2 separate regions of the Homo sapiens genome follow, and region 1 is linked to region 2. Evidence: promoter capture Hi-C in 16 types of primary human blood cells and fetal thymus (Javierre and others, 2016). All regions are on one chromosome and are shown on one strand. The core of a region is centred on a gene start or on the middle of the fragment in contact, and the rest is flanking DNA. Distances in the headings are between cores, read along the strand shown. Region 1 overlaps HSPA12A (heat shock protein family A (Hsp70) member 12A). Region 2 holds the start of VAX1 (ventral anterior homeobox 1).

Region 1 (5,321 bases), core at 2,085-4,584, 450 kb after region 2:
ATCCACCATCCTGCAGGAGAGGCTACACATGTCTGCACCGTTAATAACAGGGGTGTCCAATCTTTTGGCTTCCGTGGGCCACATTGGAAGAAGAAGGATTGTCCTGGGTCACACATTAAATACACTAACACTAATGATAGCTGATGAGCTAAAAAAAAAATCGCAAAAAAAAACTCATCATGTTTTAAGAAAGTTTACAAATTTGTGTTGGGCTGCATCCAAAGTCGTCCTGGGCCACAATGTGGCCTGTGGGCCATGGGTTGGACAAGCTTGGCGTATAGGACTGGAGACGGAATATGTTAAGTGCTTGGCAGGGGCCCCAGTGGAGGGAGGGCTCACGTGGGAGTAGTAACCATGAGGCACCTTCTCTGAAGGCAGAATTAGCAAAGACGGAGAGTGTTCTGTGGTTGCAGTTGACCCTGGCCTGATCCCAGGCAAACAGACCCATAGGTTTGCTGAGGGCTGCCAAGTGGAGGGCTTCTGTTGAGGGTGGCTGCAAGTGTTAATGCAGAAACAAAGCTTGCACTTGAAAGCATTGAGTCCTCCTGCCCAGAGAGAAAGACAGCTGGGTTTTTGAGAGCCTGGGCGATACTTTAGCATTTCCTCCTTTTCTCGGAGTCCACAGCAGTTCTGGGACTCCTGGGGAGGTTGAATTTGTGCAGAGTCCGCTGCCTCTTCTCACCTCTCCTCAGCTCTCTACTGTGGCTTCCATGGGAGTTTGCAGGTAGGACACGGCCCCTCACTGGACAGGAGCTGGTTCAAGCAAAGAAGTGTGGTTACTTTGTCCGAGGCCTCCCAGACACTGCCTGGGCCCATGACCTTGCCTTTTCCTCTGCTCAGGAGTGGGGTCCTCTTCACCTTCGCTTCCCACCTGCATCCTCATCTTGGTACAGTGGGGAACCCCCTATGGAAACAGGCCAAAGCTTTTGCTGTGGAGCTGAGGCCAGCCCAGCTGGAGAGGGACAGATGAAAGGTCTCCCCTGAGTGGCCAGCCCAAGCTGTTTTCCACAGACTTGGGGCAGCCTCAGTGTCTTCAGGATGTGAGAGTGTCCTGGGCGGGGGACAGTTCTGCTGGATTTTCAGTTGCACACCAGGCACACTCGGATGCCCTCGAGTTGTAGAATTTTACCCAGGGCTCTTCACCCCTCTAGACTGCTGGATCTGAATTTCCATATAAAGATTTCCCATCTAAGTCAGAGTTCCTGCTCAGAATTTCAGGGGTAGTGTGGGTAGAGAGATGGGGGCAGAGCTTACAGTGTGGGAAGAGGGATGAGGGGCGGAGCTTATGGTGTGGGAAGAGGGATGAGGGGTGGAGCTTATGGTTTGGGAAGGGGTGGGGGTGGAGCTTATGGTGTGGGAAGAGGGATGAGGGGTGGAACTTATGGTGTGGGAAGAGGGATGAGGAGTGGGACTTACAGTGTGGGAAGAGGGGACAAGGGGCGGAGCTTATGCCACCCTTTCTCCCTTCCCATCCCTGTCCCTGCTGCCGTGGCCCAGGCCCACCTTGCTTTTTCTGGCCCTGTGGGGGCCTCACTGCCACAAGTCCCACCTGGCAGGCTGACATCCCAGTGGGACATGGTAACCGTAATGTAGCGTCTGGGTCTTTGCCTTTCTTCCTTCACACCAACTCCTTGGGCTCCACTCATGGGTCTACTGCCATCCCCAGTTTATTTTCAAGTTTGAACTTTGGAGGAGAATTGTATACATACAGGCCTGGCAGTTTCTTTGCAGCAAGTTGTCCCTTCTTCCTCACCCCGTTTTGTGGAAGCTTCCCCCTTGGACCTTCTATGCTCCTGGGAGGTCCTTGACTCCACAACCTCAAGGATGGAAGAATCAGCACAGGAGCTGTCCCTCGGAAGGGGCCCCTCTTGGTCTTATTTGGGATTTCTTCCTCCCGACCCCTTGGGATCCAGGCTCAGAGGTTTCACCTTTCCCGAGGGCACCATACGTGTGAGAGCCACATCCTCTTTCACTTTAACCTCCAGCCATGTTTGTGCTAAGGATGTCTAATGTGACCCTGTGAGAGTGAAGCTGGGGAGGGGGGACTTTTACTTGCTTGAATAGGGGGCAGTGGGAAATCCTGTCATGCACCTGAGTCAGGGCCCTGTTGACCGATGTCACCTAAGGGCAGACCCAGCTTCTCTGACCCATGGGCTGAGCTGACAGGCATTGATGCTGCCCGGGTGGTTGGCCGTAGCTGAGGGTACTAGGTGATGGGAAGAGGGTTCGCCACGGACAGTGCAGGACACGAGAGTGGTGGTTCTTATCTGGTTTTATAAAGTCAGCCTTCCAGATGTGGTTCTGCCATTTTGAGGCATTTGGTATTTACAGAGTGAAGATGTTCAGTCACCTGCCTGCTGGTAGTATCAGTTTTAGCACTGAAAGTCTCACATCCCAGGAAATCTCTCTATCCTGAGCAAACTGGGACAGTGGGCCACCCTCCCTCTCTTTCTACATAAAGTGAAGGAGTTGATAAATAGCTCTGAAGGTCCTTTGCATTCTTTTTTTTTTTTTTTTCTTGAGATGGAGTTTCACTCTTGTCACCCAGGCTGGGGTACAATGGCACCATCTCGGCTCACTGCAACCTCCACCTCCCAAGTTCAAGCATTTCTCCTGCCTCAGCCTCCCGAGTAGCTGGGATTACAGGCACTGCCCCCACCATGCCCAGCTATTTTTTTTTTTTAGTAGAGACGGGGTTTCACCATCTTGGCCAGGCTGGTCTCGAACTCCAGACCTCAGGTGATCTGCCCGCCTCAGCCTCCCAAAGTGCTGGGATTATAGGTGTGAGCCACCACGCCTGGCCACTTTGCATTCTTAATACCTGAAAATCCCCTTCCCTCCTTGCCCAGTAATTGGACCTCCCAAGCCCCTCTGCCCATGATGAGGCCGACTTCGCCTGATGAGAAGTTATTTGTGAGTGTGTGACATTAGGAGACCTTCTGAACCTGGTCTGCAAGAAGAATGCACTAAACCCCAGGGGTCTGATACAGAACTTGAGGCCTTCCTCCCAGTAGGCATGGTATGAAGGCAGCATCCCAAGGTTCCTAAGAAATGGCAAAAAGTCAGCACCACGGCAGTGGCAGGGATGAAGTGTTCTTCCGTGGTCCATCGGGCTGGCAACTGAGGACACCCGTGTACCTGAATGGTTTCCAGAAGCAAGTGGGGCCTCCCGCTGCAGCTCAAGGCCATGAGAGGTGCCAGGGACCTGGTTAGAGGCCCAGCCATGCTGTTTCTCTGAGCATCCTCAGAAGGGTTGTCCCAGGGCCTCTTGAGCTGGCCCTTCTGAAGGCCCACAGGAGTGGTGACTGGGACTGGTCAGATGTCACAGAGCAGAAGCACTTCTGCCTACTACAGGCCAAGGCCCCAAATGTTTGCAGATGGAAGCCACAGATGAGAACTTGGGGATCAGATTGTTAAAGGAATATTTATTACTATATGTGATATATGTCTATAATAAAACTATTAAAGGGTGGAGGCTTTGAATAAGATATCTTCTTGCTGACTCAACCGCACTCTAGAAAATGAGGGACTATATGGGATTCCAGGAGGGGCTTCCTCCTGGAGCCACTGCTTATCTGTCACCCCCAGTAGGCAAATCTCAGGAACCCTCCTAGCGCTCTGGAGATAACAGGTCGGTTACCCAGATAGCAAAGTCAAATGCTTGTGTTGCTGAGGCCCAGCCATGGTCTGTTTCCAAGGCCACCAAAGATAGGGGTTTGCTCCGATTTGGTCAGACCGTGTGGTATATTACAACTGAGAACAGATCACCTGCCTTCCACCCTGTGATGGTTTGGAAAGTTTCAGGGTCTCTGCAACTCCATGCCTTCACCACTGGAGCATGGAAGCCCGTGTGCCTCCTGCAGTCCGGAATCCCCCCGCTCCTCCCCATGGTGCTGCTCAGCTCTGAGCCAAGGAGGCCCCAAGTGCAAGAGGCCCCACAGCCAGAGCACCTGGTGTTTTCCCCAGGGTGCCTATACATTTTCTTTGGCCACCCTGGGGTGTTTGGGTATCTGGCTTGGGGCCCAGTACCGAGGCACCCTGACATTATGCTCTGCAGAGGACTGTGTAGAGAATGTCCCACAGATGCAGAGCACGAGTGCGCCCTCCTTAGGGATGTCAGTCCAGGCACGGGTGTCCTAGGAGCAGGCCGGCCCAGGGGGCCCTGGGTCCCAGCCTCTGTTTCTGTCTTCCAGGCAGGCCTGGCCTCCCCCGAGAACTCGGAGCAGCTCATCATTGCCTTGGAGCCTGAGGCAGCCTCTATCTACTGCCGAAAGCTGCGGCTACACCAGATGATTGAGCTGAGCAGCAAGGCAGCCGTCAATGGGTACAGCGGCAGTGACACAGTAGGAGCTGGGTTTACACAGGGTACCTCTGCTCTCTCTCTCCCCCTCCTGCTCTCCTTCCTTCCCAAGCCCTGGATGTCTCTCTCCCTCTGATGATTTTAAAGGCACTTAGTGCCATAATGAAGAATCAGGATACTCCGGGAGGAGGTGGGCTTTAAGCACCTCTCTGCTCAGCCCCCCTACCTGGCCCCTCCAAGGACCCCCATAAATGGAGGCATGGTTACCCTGGTTCATCACCCACCAAGTGTCTGGGGGCGGGGAGCTTCTCTCTAAGAATCTGAGGGTAGCCTGAGAGCGGTTATTGGCCTCACATTGTACTAGGCTCTTAATCTTTCTTGTGTATTAACAGATTCTTAATCTAATTCCATTGCCTGTTATTAATTCTCCATTAAGACTGTTGATTTATTGCTGAGTCACTCATTGGGTCTGCTTCATGTGCGATGAGTTTAAAATGCAGATGAAACCGGCTGACTTTTCCTGACCTAGGTGACGCTCGCTTAGCTGTGGGAAGGAGCACCGCCTTAGGGAGACTGAGGATGGCGATTTTAAAAAGCTTTTCCTCTTTAATAATTACCTGAATGCAAGTAGGTCATAGCCTTGGTCACAGAACTTGGTTCCCTGGTATCCAGGGCTCTGTGGGTGTGTCGAGGGCTATAGGGTTTGCAGACACGCCCTGTCAGGGTCAAGGCACCAATATGAGCGCTAAGTGAGAGCACTATGGGGGTGGCGCCGGGCACTGTTGTTAAATCTCAAAGGCACGAGGGCCTAAGGTCTAAGGGTTAATTTCAGGCTGCAAGAAAAGAATTGTGGGGCCGGGCGTGGTGGCTTACACCTGTAATCCCAGCACTTTGGGAGGCCGAGGCAGGCGGATCACGAGGTCAGGAAATCCAGACCACGGTGAAACCCCGTCTCTACTAAAAATACAAAAAAAAAAAAAAAAAAAAATTAGCCGGGCGAGGTGGCGGGTGCCTGTAGTCC
Region 2 (4,843 bases), core at 2,094-4,593:
CTTCATAAATAATTCCCCTGGACACGTTGGCTCACGTCTGTACTCCCAGCTACTCAGGAGGTTGAGGTGGGAGGATCGCTTGAGCCTGGGAATTCGAGGCTACAGTGAGCCGTGATGGTGCTACTGCACTCCAGCCTGGGCGACAGAGCGAGAACCTGTCTCAAAAATAAGTAAGTTTAAAAAACAAACAAACAGGCTGGGCTTTGTGGCTCATGTCTGTAATCCCAGCACTTTGGGAGGCCAAGGCGGGCGGATCACGAGGTCAAGAGATCGAGACCATCCTGGCCAACATGGTGAAACCCTGTCTCCAATAAAAACACAAAAATTAGCTGGGCGTGGTGGCGCGCGCCTGTAGTCCCAGCTACTCAGGTGGCTGAGGCAGGAGAATCTCTTGAACTCGGGAGGCGAAGGTTGTAGTGAGCGTAGATCGCGCCATTGCACTCCAGCCTGGCGACAGAGTGAGACTCCGTCTCAGACAAACAACAAACAAACAAACAAATAGTTCCCCCTTACAACAAAATATGCCACAAGATGAGGGAGGGCAGAAATTTCCGAGGCCAAACTTAAAATTTGCATTTGGGATTTGGCCATACTTTGGCCGTTCTCTGTGGCAGTGAATGCGGCTGCAGACGTCCCAGCGCCGCCATTGCCCACAGGGCGTGTCATTTCTAAGGGCAGCTGTTTGTTCCCTGACTGCCCCCGCCCCGCCCCCCAGCTCCCCCATCTACCTAAAAGAAAATGTAATGGGTTGGGCCATTTTTATTTTTTAAAAAGCTTTCTTCCAGGTCTTTGACCGGGCGCCGCAGGTGTCCGCATGGGTTTCCCAGGCCGCTGCGGCCTTCACCGACAGAAGGAGGCCGTACAGAGGGGTGCGGCCGGGCCGGGGACCCAGAGCCATCTGGGTCCCATTTGGGCCAAGGCTGCGGTTTGGGACTTCCGCCGCCTGCAGGGCTCCTAAAGGGCTGAGGAAGGCCTAGAATCCTCCTGCGCACCCGATCTCGCGTAGTCCGAGGGTCCGACCCCTCCAACCCCTCCAGGGTAGGGGGCAAGGAAGGGCCGGTGTGCCAGGGAATTCGGTCGCACCCCTCCCTGCCCAAGGAGGCCCAGGAGCTCCCTCGGGCCGAGCTCTGCAGGGAAGTGAATGCCCCATCTGCTGCAGGGACCCCCATCAGGAGGACCCGAATCCCAGGGACCCGCACCCGCGACGCGGTAGTGGGAGTCAAGACCCGGCGGCTGCACCCCCGACGGCTTGGCCGCATGGGAGCAAAGCCCTCGGTGCCTCAAGGCGCCAGTCTGGGCTTTTGAGCGTTGCGGGAGGTAACAGGAGAGTTCGCCGGATTTTAACACAATCCCACTCTACATCTTCAGAACAGGGTGGCCGCAAAGTCCCTTACCCCTCTTACCCGTCTCTGCTCCCACCCGCCTCACCAACCCGCCGGAGCAGAGCTCGTAATCAAAGGCACTTTCCCCGGGCGCCCAGTCGGCGTCGGACTTCGAGGGCAGCGTGCGCAGCGAAGCCGGGCTGAGGGGCGATCAGCCCGCTGGGGACCCTGGAAACCCGCCGCCCTGCGGAGAGTAGCTCGGGACAGTTCCACCGCTCCGCCCAGTCAACTAAAGTGGAAGCCTGATGTCGGCCTGCAGGGCCAGAGATGCCCTCCGGAGCTGGGCCAAACCTGGGTGCCCCTAAGTGGCTGGAGGGGTGGCTGGGTGGACAGCGCGAAAGACCCCGCTCAGGGGGCCCCCTCCTGGCTTGGGACGGTAGAGGGGTCCCGCGGGGTGGCGGCGGAGGCAGGGGAGGTGGCGGCGGGGCGGGAGGTGCGGACGGTGCGCGCGTCGCTGCGAGCTGGAGCCCCTAGGGGCCCGCCACACACACTCGCACCCCTCCCCCTCCCGGCCTTCCTCCCACCCGCTCGCCGCGACCCCCTCCCCAACCCCCTCCCCTCCCCCCGCCTCCGCCCCATTCTTGGAATTGTGTGGAAAAATTCTCAGCCAAACCTCCCACCTCTCCTCTCCCCCCACCCACCCCCTTTAAAAAACCCCTTTCCTCCCCGGCCCCTGCACTCTTTGTGAATGAGGGCAGGGAACACGGCCCTTCCCCCGCCCAGGAGCCACGCCAGACCGCCGCACTCAGAGGACTGTTTGTTAATAGTCCAATTAGATAATTGCCATCTTTCACTCCTTTTGCTCCGCATTTCCCATAAAGGAATGAATGGGGAGAGCGGCGTGGAGAGGGCTTCTGCCCCGGCAAGGTGACGAGAAGGGCTGGAGCATGCTCCTTGCACAAGGCCATGCGCTTGAATTGAATCATTGTAGCCTAATCAATGCTCTTATTGGATTACTGGCTGTTGCTTTTCTCAAAGATATTGTAGCAGAGACAATGAAATAGCTAGGGGAAAACTTTTTTTTTTTTTTTTTGAAGCAGATCTCACAGTTGAGATTTCTCGGCCGTCTCTCCCTCTCCCCCTCTCTCTCCTGCTGGACTCTGAGTACAAAGCTGCCCTTTGAATGGGCTGCCTCAGGGCTGCTGGAGGTGCAGGCATGAAAAAATCCAACTGGAACTAAATGAAGAGAGGTGGCAGTTTAAGATGGCTGTCTGCGTCGAGGTGTGTTAAGAAGGAGTTGTTTAGGGGAAAATCTTGGCTTTTTTAGAGTGCAAGGGAGATACTTTTTGGGAAAACTTTCTCCCCCCGCTCTGTCCCCCATCCCCCACTCCCAGACAACTGCTTTCTTCTGCCGCAGGGTGCGCAGGGTTTTTTTTTTCTCCCCCCACACCCCCCCGCCGCCCAACCCTCATTCAGCTCTATCTGGCGAGTGTGGAGAAAACCCCTCTAGCCAGTATGTGAGCAGGAGGGTCAAAGGCAAAAGGAAAGTTAATAATGCCTGCTAATGGTACTAACAATTCAGGATGAATCTTGTCAAAAGTTTTTCTGGAAGTGTGGGTCTTTGATTGTGTGTTTCCTGAAAGCAAGACCAATCATTTCCGTTTATTCACTGGCTAAACCCCTACTTGATTGGGGACAAGGACAGAAACCATCCATTACGATCTGATATATTATCCAAACAATTTAGTGTATTCATGAGGTAACCGAAACGTGGGGGCTGCGAAATTACCCGTAATCAATTGCAACAGCGAGTGTGCGTCCCCCCGGGTGTCGGACAACTACAACTCGCCGTCTCAGAAACAGGCGGGAGCCGCAGCATTTCGGAGTTGCGCTGTTCGCTACCTGATCGCCAGGCTGGGGACACTGGACGTGCTCAGAGGACGCGGGTGCTGACGAGGCGGCCTCGCCGCAGCTCCACCAGGATCCTGGACCAGACTGGCCGCCTCTCGGCGAGCGCGCCACTCTCCCGTCGCCGCTGACCCGCGCGCGGCCGCCGAAGCCTCCCCGCGGGGACATTCATTCTTGCCCCTTGCCTGTCGCCGGGCCGGGCGTACGGGCCGCGTTGTCGGGGGTTTTGTCCCCTTTTTCCTCTTTTTTTTTTCCTTCTCCGCCCCCCCCCCTTTTTTTTTTTTTTGCTTTTTTTTTCCTTTCTGTTTTTGTTGTTGTTCTTGCCTATGTTCGGGAAACCAGACAAAATGGACGTTCGATGCCACTCGGACGCCGAGGCTGCCCGGGTCTCGAAGAACGCGCACAAGGAGAGTCGGGAGAGCAAGGGCGCGGAGGGGAACCTCCCAGCCGCCTTCCTCAAGGAGCCGCAGGGCGCCTTCTCAGCGTCGGGCGCTGCTGAGGATTGTAACAAAAGTAAATCCAATTCCGCAGCGGACCCGGATTACTGCCGCCGGATCCTGGTCCGAGGTAGGGATGGGCAGGGCTGCCAGGCGCGTTCTTTGGGGTCGACTCCGGGGCCGGAGCTGCGCGCTGCCGCCGACACAGGCCGGTGGGAAGGAGTGCCGGCTGGGACTTGGGAGAAAGTTGTTGGCCCTCCCCGCCCCGAGTCCGGCTGGGGACAAGCGCCTGGGACTCTCCGGTGCGCTCTCCAGGGGCCTCGGCCCTCCACGCCCGGAGGGGCCCCGCTGACCGGGCTGCGGGGGGAGATGAGGGGCTGCGCGGGTGCGGCCGGGCATCGGGCTGCGGCCTCCGACCCGGGAAAGGAGCAGAAAACTCCGGGAGGAGGTGTGCGCGCTCCAAGGGCCGGACGACCTGCCGGGAGCCGGCCAGGGGACTCCCGCGCTCTGGAGGGCTGAGCGCACCCAAGGGGGAACGCGAGCCCCGGAGAACAGCTGCCGATCGCGGGCTACGGCCCTGCCAGTTAGTGCACTGGGCCGAGGACCCCACGGCCGCGATCGGTGCCCGACCGCTGCCGCCGGGAGAGGCAGCTGGGCTTGGTTACGGAGCCGCGGTTGCCGCTTTGGTGCTCTGCTCTGCCGCTCTCGGATGGCGCGGCGTGCACTTAGCCCCGGCGGCGGAGGCTGCGAGGCCGGGCCCCGGCCCGGCGCCGCCCCAGCCAGCAGCAGATCTCCGGGCCCGGCCGGCCCCGACTCAGTCCCTCCTCCTTCCGCCGCGCGGACTCCGGAGGGAAGGAGACTCGAGGGTGGGGGTGGGGACGTCTGGATCACGGTCTGGTCGGCAAGCCCAGAGCTGGGGCCCGCAGGACCCGGGCGGGGCGACAAGGGTACCCTCAGGCTACAGGGGACCCGGAAGGCTCAGCCGAGGCCCCCCCAGGCCGGAAGAAACGTCCGCCTATGTGGAATTGATTGGATTTTTTTCTCTCCCCTGTCTGGAGGACTCTACAAAAAGACAAAGTGTGGTCCCTCCTTCGGTCAGCGGTATGGAGTTAGGCCCCTTGCCCTCCACACAGTGTCTTTGCTACCTGGTTGTGGTCGCGCTCCGCACCCCGCCCC

What was found. Contacts are between HindIII fragments. The CHiCAGO score rates a contact against its expected background, and 5 or more counts as called.
Region 1: a fragment that was not itself captured here is called in contact with the fragment with the promoter of VAX1 in region 2 in 1 of 17 cell types (endothelial precursors); the score reaches 5.8 in endothelial precursors.

Annotation. Positions count from the first base shown.
Region 1 is chr10:116,682,835-116,688,155 of GRCh38, reverse strand. HSPA12A (heat shock protein family A (Hsp70) member 12A) reads left to right here. Exons shown (of 12, transcript NM_025015.3): 7 at 4,194-4,365. Among named protein-coding and RNA genes, the nearest start is that of HSPA12A-AS1, 15 kb to the right of the region's middle. RefSeq lists an enhancer at 4,833-5,321. The HindIII fragment of the contact is 3,128 bases long and covers 1,771-4,898 here.
Region 2 is chr10:117,136,770-117,141,612 of GRCh38, reverse strand. VAX1 (ventral anterior homeobox 1) reads left to right here and starts at 3,343. Exons shown (of 3, transcript NM_001112704.2): 1 at 3,343-3,797. The coding sequence starts at 3,557. RefSeq lists enhancers at 588-1,173, 1,174-1,760. The HindIII fragment of the contact is 11,137 bases long and covers 777-4,843 here.